Regions from separate parts of the Homo sapiens genome. Here regions 1 and 3 are each linked to region 2. Evidence: promoter capture Hi-C in human tissues and cell types (Jung and others, 2019). All regions are on one chromosome and are shown on one strand. Each heading gives the region's core, a stretch centred on a gene start or on the middle of the fragment in contact. The rest is flanking DNA. Distances are from core to core; before and after follow the strand shown. Region 1 overlaps SNHG14 (small nucleolar RNA host gene 14). Region 2 holds the start of NPAP1 (nuclear pore associated protein 1). Region 3 overlaps LOC105370733 (a long non-coding RNA gene).

Region 1 (3,207 bases), core at 77-2,576, 450 kb before region 2:
TTGTTCAAGGGTCAAGTGTACTAGCAAATAGAGCACTATACTAAATACATTTTATGAAGCCTAATGCCAACATCTGACAAAAATAATTTTTAAAAAGGAAACCACAGGATAATGGCCATCACGGACATAGGTGAATAACTCTTAAATAACTAGCAGAAAAATTGAATACAGTAATATATATACAAGAAGGATAACAGTGACCAATTGGATTACATCAAGAATGCAATGTTGGGCTAACATTCAAAAGCTGACCAATGCAGTCTCCCATAATAAGAGAATAAGGGGGAAAACATGATTATATTAATAAATGTAGAAAAACATTCAGCAAATTTATCACATTATTATTATAAAAATTAACAGCAAACTGGCACTAGAATAAAACTTGCTCAATTTGGTAATGGGCATCTACAAAAAAATAACAGCTAGTATCTTTCTTAATGGTAAGAAATTACATATTTTCTCCTAAGACTGAAAAGAAGACAACCCAACTGAAAAGCAGTTGCAATGTGAAAATATTACTGTTTTCATATAATAGTAACAAATCTGGAAAACGAAATTTAAACATATTCATTTACAATAGCATCAAAACAACAAAACAAATAAATTTAACAATTTAATCTAGTTTATTAAATGTTAAATTTTAATAATGTTTCTATATTGAAAACTACAAGGTATGCTTCTATACTAAACACCATAAAAGACATCTATGAGAAATTATAGACGACCTAATAAATGGAGAACTACAGACTCAACATTGTTAAGATGTCAATCCCCCCTAAATTTATCTATAGTTTTGATGTAATCAAAATCAATTTCTCGGTTGGGCTTTTTAGGAAATTGACAAGATAATTTTAAAATTTAAGTGAACATACAAAGGACCCAGTGTAGCCATCTCCTTCCTCTATAAAGCCTTGAAATAACAAAATTTTGGACTCACACTACTTAATCTCAAGATTTACTATTAAACTTCAGTGAAAAAGAATGGCATAAAGAAGGAAAAACAGAGAGTTCAAAAAAGATCCATACGTAAATGGCCAACTTATTTTCAACAATGGCATTAGATAATTCAGTAGAAAAAGAAAAATCTTTTGATCAAATGGTTCTGCAACAACTGGAGATTGATGAAAACAAGTAACTTCAACTACATTTGAAAATGATTTGAGATAGATGTTATACTTATGTCCCAAAGCTTCTAGAAGAAAACTTAGAAAACTATTATTTGCAAACCTGGAGTAAGCAAAGATTTAATAGTAAGTAATAAGCACTAAAAATAAGAGACTCAAACTGATATACTGGACTTAAAAATTTTCAATGTCTGTTTATCGAAAGACACAAGAAGCCTGGGCAACACTGCAAGACTCTGTGTCTAAAAAATTTTTTTTATAAATTAGCCTGGTGTGGTGACATATGCCTGTAGTCCTAGCTGCTCGGGAGGCTAAGGTGGAAGTATTGCATAAGCCCAGGAATTTGAGGCTGCAGTGAGCTATGATTGTGCCATTGCACTCCAGCCTGGGTGCAAAGTGAGACTTTGTCTCAAAAAAACTCCAAAAAACAAAAATGAAAAGATGGGGAAAGAGAGTTGGGACTGACTGCTTAATGGGTATGGGTTGTCTTTGGGGTGCTGAAAATGTTTTGGAACTAGTTAAGGATGGCAGTTGCAAAACATTTTGAATGCACTAAATGGCTACGTTATGTTAATTTCACGTAAATTAAAGGAAAAGAGATGGGGGAGAAAAGGAGAGGAAGAATAAATAGCAATAAGGGATGAGCCACTGGCAAATTCGGGCCATTTTAAAATTTAGAGCATAACAGCATTAAAAGGAGAAGAAAGAAAAGAAAAAGAAAGGAAATGGAAAGGAAGGCAGGCAGGCTAAGATACTTAATGAAAGAAACCTTTGCAACACATATATTGAACAAGAAATGTATGTCCCAGTAATACAAAGAACACTTCCAAACGAAGAGCAAATAAACAATCCAATGTAAAACTATTTGTAGTGTGATACTTTACACATATTGCAAACAATTCTCATAGAGCAGAGGGGTTGAATAAATTGTGGTGCATCCATGGAGTTAAGCACTAAGCATGACAGAATGAGGAATATCTCTTTGAATACACATGAAGTGATTTCCAGGACATATTAAGCGGAAAAAGAAAACTGCAACAAAAAAAAATCTATAGTATGCCACTAATCATGTAAGAAGGAAGGGGATATAAAATATACATGTGATATATGATAAAATATACATGTATCTGCCCACTTGTGAACAAGAATAACAAGAGAAAAAAATAAACCAGAAACTATTAGACTAGTTAACTCTAAGGGTTGGGTGAGATTAGGGTGGAAAGAAGGGAGGAATAGAATCAGTGTAGCAGGGATGATGGGAGAGTGGTATTTCTCACAGTCCTAATTTTTAGAAACATAGTAATATTTCACATATACAAAATATAGTTAAAATAATCCAAAAGGTGAGGGAACTCAAAATGGAATATAAACAATAAAAAAACCTGCTTGATTATATGATTAATGTAACCATATGGCAGGGGATAGGAAAAAAAAGATAACTAACCTAAATACGTTTAGAAATAATAGTATGTTGACTGAACGCTGTTAAGGATAAAGACAAAAGAACTATATTTAAATACTGTGCTGTAGTTAGTGATTTCATTTTTAAAGGGGTATAATTTAGCAATTCTGAAATTATTTAAGTGTATACTGCACTGAAGAAATAACAAAACATATTGTAGATAATGAAAGGTAGGTTTCTCACTGTTGAAGAAGCAAATCACAAATAAGCCAAGAGGGAAGAATAAAATGAACCATATGATGATGGATTATGATCCACAACAGTATGAACTTGTGATTTTTAATAAAGATAGATATATACTATCTATAGTATTCTACATACTATTAGTATATATATTTAAGATAGATAAATGAATAGAGACAATATAGGGGTGTGTGTGTATGTGTATGTGTGTAAACGGACACACAGCTCCCAGCTCTAGGCCTAGAAGCAATAAAACCCCATTAGCAATTAATACACTTAATACCAAGATCTTGGTTTCTAAATACTATTTTCCAATATGAAGAACTAGAACCCCTTGAGGAAATGGTTGATTACAGGCGTGGGGAAGGAAAATACAAGATAAACCTAGAATATCTTGTGATACCCGAAAATAAGAAGTGGTCAAAAAATTATGAGGTT
Region 2 (3,299 bases), core at 600-3,099:
CCTGAGATGGGGCAGTAGTATCCATATTAACTACTTCAGGGTCTACCGCAGTCTGTGAGGTTAGGTGGGCAGATGCGTTTGTTGTGACAGTGGAAATGACTGACGTGGAATTCATAGGCTTGCTGGTGATAACTGAGGTCCCGGTGGAAGGGACTGGAAGAAGAGTCAGGAAGGAAAGAGGAGGAGGGGAATCCACACACATAGATATTGGGGACTCCCTTGTGACGGGAGGCTTGAAGGAGGGTGTGGAGCTAGGAGGTGTTGGGGGGTCAGAAGTGAGAGGCGCTGCTCCTACGACTGAATTATAAGAGCCTCCTTTCTCATTAGACTGATCACCCAAAATGGGAACAAGGTCAGCAGGAAGAGCCAGAGGAGAGTTAGGGATTGTGAATGCTATTTTCTCATCCATTTTTGGTGTGGTGGAAAGTGGAGGGATAGGCAGGATGAGGGGTCCAGTAGCCAGGTCAGCCAAGTCAGGGATGGGCAAAGGAGCTGAGACCTGGGAAGTGTAAGTGGTCAGGGGCAGGGAGTCTGTGGTCTGCACAGGTTGGGAGAAAGAAGGGGCAGGCTGGGTGATGCTGCTGTTTGTCATGGTCTCTGTTTTATCCTCCAAGATTCTGCTATTCCTTTTATACTCAGGGCTCTTCTCCAAGGTGTGTAGGTCTCCCTCAACAGACAGGCAGGGGAGCTTAGCAGGTGGGGGAAGCTCACCTCGATCCCACAGCAATGGCAGTGAAGGGGGCAGCGGCAGCAGCAATGGAATCGACATTTTCCTTTTGCAGGGCCTGTTGCGGGCAGCTCTGGGAGGAGCAGCGCTCCTTGGAGGAATACAGAAAGGCTTCTCATCAGGCATCCTCTTTCCGGACATCAGCGGAATCGGCAAGCCTAGGGAGCTGGGCGGTGGCTCTTCATTCAGCACTTCCGCAGCCAACTTCTGCTGCAGCAGGGAGCAGCCAACGGCTGGCTCAGGGGGCGCTGTTGCATCCGGATCAGGCTTTCCAAGATGCCGGGCACATCCGGCCTGGCTGTGTGTGCTGGGCATGGCAGGGCCTTCCAAGCAGGAGCTCGCTGGAGACGCCTGGGCCTTCTCACTCATGCTGTTTTCTGAGAACTTGTGGTAGACATTTCCCTCCAGAGGCCCAGGGCTGCATCTGAAGGAGGCCACGTCTCCCTGGGTGCCCTGGGACCTGGATGTGGACGATGCTTCTCCGCTGCTAAGGGGGGTCCTTTTCTCGTCATCCTCCCCTTCGATCTGCACCGGATCCTCATCCTTCTTCACTCTTCTGGGCCCTTCTTGGGCCCACACCTCGGTCTCCTCCAGGAGAGTGGCTGGGATGGGCTTCCTGGCCTTGACCGCCGGCTCACGTGGTGAAGGCAGCAGGAGAGTGAACATGCGGCTGGGAGGAGGGATCCTTACGGAACTGGGGTGTCCAAACCTCGGGGGGTTCCGAGCAGGCAGCATGGGTGTCTTCCTGATGGCCAGCCCCCAACCCACAGCCGGCAGGACCCCCAGAGGGGCGGCCGCAGCCCGAGGGAGAGGACACGGCCTCTTAGGGGCGACGAAGATGCTGGCTGCTGAAGGCCTGCGACGGGCGTTCCGGCGGAACAGGCCGCGGAAAGGGCGCGGGGTGGGTACAGAGTGAGCCCGACCGGGCGGGGAGGCGTCCCGGGACAGGGGAGCGGGGGCGCCACGCCCTGGCCCTGGCAGGGGCCGGCGGCGGCACCCGGGTCTAAATTTACTAAGTAAATTGCCCATTTAGAGCTAGCCGTGCCTCCTACCGTAAAACAGGGTCAGCAGTGGACTCAACTCTCCTCAGCCACCGCCTCCTCTGGCGACCAAGCACAAACTGACTGGCTCTACGCCTGCGACGCCGCCGCGAGGTTCCTCACAGAACCAGGGAGCGCCAGCGGGGGCGCAAAAGGCAGGGGTCAGAGGGCAAAGGGCGACGCCCCGTCGGCCCCAGCTGCCCCAGGACCCCCGGAAGCCCCGCTGCCGGTGGCAGGTGTTGCACCGCGTGGCCTCTATGAGGGAACTGCTGGGGCCTGCGGGCCCATCGCCAGAGCTCTTGTCACCTGGGCGCCGGCTCTGCCTGTTCCTTAGCCCTGGCCCGGCGCTGTTGCACGCAGTGGCCCTGTGTCGGCCGTCCCCATTCCCCGGTTCACAGAGGGCACATCTGCTTCAAGTTAAGCACAGGACAACCTATATCCTGCCAGCCTCCTCTAGGACCTTGGCAGTGCTCTGTGCTGCCTGGAGCCAGGTGTGCCGTCTCTGTGGCGCCAGGGTCACCAGCCAGGCCGTGAGGGTTTCCGAGGAGGGGACGTGGTGCCTTGTCCTGACTAGATGCTACGCCCTACCACATCTCTTCCTGGCAGGCAGGGCCTCTTCACTTCTTTTCACAAATTTGTTTTAAACAACATTTAAGGCTGGGCGCGGTGGCTCACGCCTTTAATCCCAGCACTTTGGGAGGCCAAGGCGGGTGGATCACCTGAGGTCAGGAGTTCGAGACCAGCCTGACCACCATGGTGAAACCCCATCTCTACTAAAAATACAAAAATTAACTGAGCGTGGTGGCACGCACTTGTAATCCCAGCTACTAGGGAGGCTGAGGCAGGAGAATCGCTTGAAAGCGGGAGGTGGAGGTTGCAGTGAGCTGAGATCACCTCACTGCACTCCAGCCTGGGGGAACAGAGCAAAACTCTTGTCTCAAACAAAAACAAAAACAAAAAACCACAACAAACAACAGCAACAACATTTAAGCCTTAGGCTGCTTGCTCCTTGGGTCATTGATATGACAGTGGCCTAGCCAGGCTTCGAACCTGGGCTGTGTGATTCCAGAGCTGGTGCCGTGGCCTGTGTGCCTCCTTGTTATGGACACATCATGTATTCTCATTATTTCCTGTAGTCCTTAGGGTACCTAGCACACAGCACATCTGTATTAAGCACATGCGTTCCTAGGGGGAAGCCCTTACTTCACCTCATAAGTTGGTCATGGCAGGCACTGGGCTCCAGTCTCCTCTGAAGACATGGGGCAGCGACCCCCAATAGTCAGCAAAGCAGCATCCCACACTGTTCTTCTAATTGAGCCTTGCAGCCCAGATTTCCTTTTTGGTCTAGTTTGAAGGATCTAAATATGTAAAGATTATAGTCCAGATCCATTTTGGCCTATCCCGAAAGAAATTCACCAGTGGATTAATCCAAATGGATAAGCCAGTTCTCTGGCCTTCTTGGAATATGTTAGAAAGCAAATTCATCATGTATTTGCAAGTCAGTAGTGGAGCAATGTATTCGATTAAAATAT
Region 3 (3,572 bases), core at 705-3,204, 330 kb after region 2:
TAGGCTAAGCTGTCTGAAACTAGACCTGAAAAGCATTTACCATGTAAGACAAAACATAATCTATGTAGTTGATGTGAGCAAAGACTGTGGGGCATATAGAATCAAACTCAAGGTTCCTTTAGGCCTCTCCTTTCGAGAGTTAGCTCAGACTTGGAAATGGACCAGAGGAGCGGGAATAGTGCTTACTTCCTGAGATGGCAGGTGGATTGTATGAAATGATAACATATAAACCACGTAGTATCTTACTAAGCCTACACTAACCCCAAAAAACAAATATTCTAATAAATTGTGAGATGTATCAATTGCATCAGTTGTAATGTGTCATTATTTCCTATATCAGAATGAAAGAACAAAATCACTAACAATGAAACTAATACTTTTATCATGTGGAAATACACTGTATAATAATAACATCATTATATTATAATTATTGGAAAAAAAGCTGTTTTCAAGACATATATCTGTGGATATTTGTCTTGTCTTTTGTCACTCCTATGATTACATGGGATGGAACATATAAGGAAAATACACCAACAAAGGTTTTCCTAAATTTCCTCCCATTCAGATCCAACTCTCCTAAATCACTCTTCAATTCATCTTGCTCATGGTGTTCCCCATGTTATCATCATTTGTGCTAATCTGAGGATTTGGTGATGCTGCATTTCCTGTGAGATTCCTACCTTGCTCCTGCGAGTCTCTATTTTCAACCTTCTGAAACCTCCTGTGCAAGATTTGATGCTGATGTTGATGACATCACCCAAAAACATCAACAGGAGGTTTGCAGACAAAGCTCATATACAGGTAAATGAGGACAATCACATTATGACTGCCTTCCCGTCAACAGTGTTTTAACGCTTTCAAATTTAAGATGCATCTGTATTTGATAGATGTGAAAATGTGCACTCTACGATGAATGGAATACACTGTTTTCTCTGTGACTGCTTGTTTCTCACTGTTAAATTATGGTGGCTCATTGGCTATATTCTTGTTTGTTATTGAGGAAATATGCTTAAATCTTACCATATAAATTTATAAACTGCATTTATATTCTACCTGGAAGCTTCACCACTGCCCTCCATTAGGGAAGTCCAGTTTGTCCACTTCTCATTAAAGTGAGTGTCCAGAGAGGTGTTATAAACTGCATTTATAATTTTAGACACATTAGAGTTATTAGTGGAGTGCTAGAATTCTTATGTCACATATGGAAATATAGTTCTATGAACCATGGTTTAAGAAATCCATTGAAGACAAAGATGAAAATTGTAAAGAGTTACTTGAAAAATTTACTGGAGTGCTAGCTCTCTAAAGACGTGGGAAAATCCTGTATTTTGAAACTTTAAACTGTAATCTTAGAAATATGAGCAACGCTTCCTGTAAACTTCATTACAGATTCCATTCTTTCAGCTGTAACATTTGTATATCTTTTTCTTCATTCACATTTGTCCTTTTAATCACATGGCTGGTGATCGTAGAAATCACCTTATGATTAGTCACTGCAGAAGTGAATGCATAATGGTCTTTATAAGATATTCTGATCTGCCCCCTTGCTTCTCTGGTCAACTCTACTTTGGGTAATTGGATATTGGAATCGGTTTCGATGTCCCCTCATGAGTACACTGAGTGATGAAAAAACTCATACAGTCAGAGTTAAGGGGGCTGACTGAAATTTCACCTAGAGTTTTAGACTCCGGGAAGGTTGAATTAAGTAAACACAAAGCCATGCCATTACATATATGAGACATTCCTTCCTTGAACTCAATCTTCTTATCAGGTTAGAGTGTGGAGACAGAGCACTGGGTTTGCCTCATGATGTCGTCTAAAAATGTGGTTTGTTTGCAATAGCATCTTCTGTAGACTTGTGGTGTCCAGACCAGCCTCTATACAACTGTTGATTTAGGATACTGTGCGAAATCATATCTTCCATGCAGTGAAAGTTTGTCTGGGGACTCAGTGCTCAGCACTTTGTCATCTGTGCCTGTGACATCCTGCTATTCAAGATTTATGGATGTCAATGGGAGTTTAATATGTACCTCCATGGCTTTGTAGGCCTTTTAGGCATGGTTCCTGAAAACAACTCTGCTGCTACTAAGAAGAGTGCAATGGCCTCTTAATAGGAAGCTGTGTGGAGAATTAGTGGGCAGCGAGTACACATGCAGAGTCATCAGTCACCCTGTTTCTGTCTCTCAGATCACTGCATGGAGGGTTGGAGATATGCTGTATACTGGTTTTTTTGTTTGTTTGTTTTTTTGTCTACTGAGATTTCTCTTCTTGTGCACAACATGTATATATCACTCAGTATCATTCACCTGCAAAAACTCTGTTGTAAAGTTTTATTCCCAGGCCTCTGGAAGCAGGGACTGCCCTGCACCAACTTATGAGAAATATTTTTTGTACTCTGCTTACCTGCTATCTTGATGGCTTTAGGGTTGGCCAAAGGCAATATAATTCCACCATGTGAGTATCAACAGAGTGCACAGTCCTGCACAGTTCCTGATGGAGCCTGTAGAAAGAAGCAAAGTAAATTAGAACAGGTTTTCTGAAAGGTTTGAAGGTAAAGTTGACCTTGGGTTACTTGAAGAAGAAATCCCCGTACCAAGAAAACATGATCCTGAATGCAGAAATATGATTTCTGTTCCCTGTCACTGAAATTTCTTATTCTTGCCTTATATCATCTGGAAGTCATGTCTTCCAAAAAGGTTAGTGGGATCCTGAATATACTCTGCTAAATGCTGTCCTAAAATGGGGTTTTCTGGGATATGTGAAAAACAGGCATCTTCCTTTCAAGAAGTGGATGCTGACGCTCTAATGACTAGGTAGTGGGGAAGGAGAAAGAGGATAAGAGTCCTTGGAGCTTGATGGTACCTTCCTGAAGGAGTGGCACCTGGGTTTCGAATGTTGCCTAGAAAAGAAAAGCCAGTTTACTATTCTCTCCCTACATGCCCACTTGTATCTGGAGGCAAAAGTTTTTTGCTGATGTCTTTACTTGCTTACTTTTCTTAAAAAAATAATAATAATATTAAAAAACATATTTATTTTGAAATAACTGCAGATTTACATAAATGCACATAGGTAAGTACAGACAGTTTCATATACCATTCAGCTAACTAGAATGTTAATATATATTATAACCATAGCATATTCATGAAAACTAAGAATTTAACTGTTTTTCGAGATTATTAACTGATCTACAAACTTCCTTCATATTTTACCAGGTTTTTTAATAATCATATACTTATCTATTCCAGGACCTAATCCAGAATACCACCTTACAATTACTGTCAAGTATATTACTTACTACTTGGTGCATAACAAATTAGTACGTACCTTAGTGGCTCAGAACCACACACATATTACTCACGGTTTCTCTGGGTCTTCGGTCTAGATGTAGGTGATGGCTCAGGCTGAGGCTCAGCTGGGGAAGGGTCTCCTTCCAAACTCACATGATTGTTCTTAGGATTCACTTCCCTTCCCTCATCAGGAACTCACTGATGTGTTATTAAAATCACAGAAAATTAATACTAATTTATCAAAAATATTTCAAAACAATACAATAATAATAAAGAAGTAGAAAA

The links. Contacts are between HindIII fragments. The study calls those that stand out against the background at their distance.
Region 1: a contact is called between a fragment that was not itself captured here and the fragment with the promoter of NPAP1 in region 2, in 1 of the 25 tissues and cell types used here (aorta).
Region 3: a fragment that was not itself captured here is called in contact with the fragment with the promoter of NPAP1 in region 2 in 2 of the 25 tissues and cell types used here (dorsolateral prefrontal cortex and mesendoderm cells).

The regions. Positions count from the first base shown.
Region 1 is chr15:25,124,586-25,127,792 of GRCh38, reverse strand. All of the region lies in intron 61 of SNHG14 (small nucleolar RNA host gene 14), which reads right to left. Among named protein-coding and RNA genes, the nearest start is that of PWAR1, 9.5 kb to the left of the region's middle. The HindIII fragment of the contact is 3,468 bases long and covers 1-3,060 here.
Region 2 is chr15:24,674,325-24,677,623 of GRCh38, reverse strand. It overlaps NPAP1 (nuclear pore associated protein 1), which reads right to left and starts at 1,849. Exons shown (of 1, transcript NM_018958.3): 1 at 1-1,849. The coding sequence starts at 1,756. The HindIII fragment of the contact is 8,790 bases long and covers 1-3,299 here.
Region 3 is chr15:24,346,339-24,349,910 of GRCh38, reverse strand. The region is part of intron 2 of LOC105370733 (a long non-coding RNA gene); the gene reads right to left. Among named protein-coding and RNA genes, the nearest start is that of PWRN3, 93 kb to the left of the region's middle. The HindIII fragment of the contact is 7,486 bases long and covers 1-3,572 here.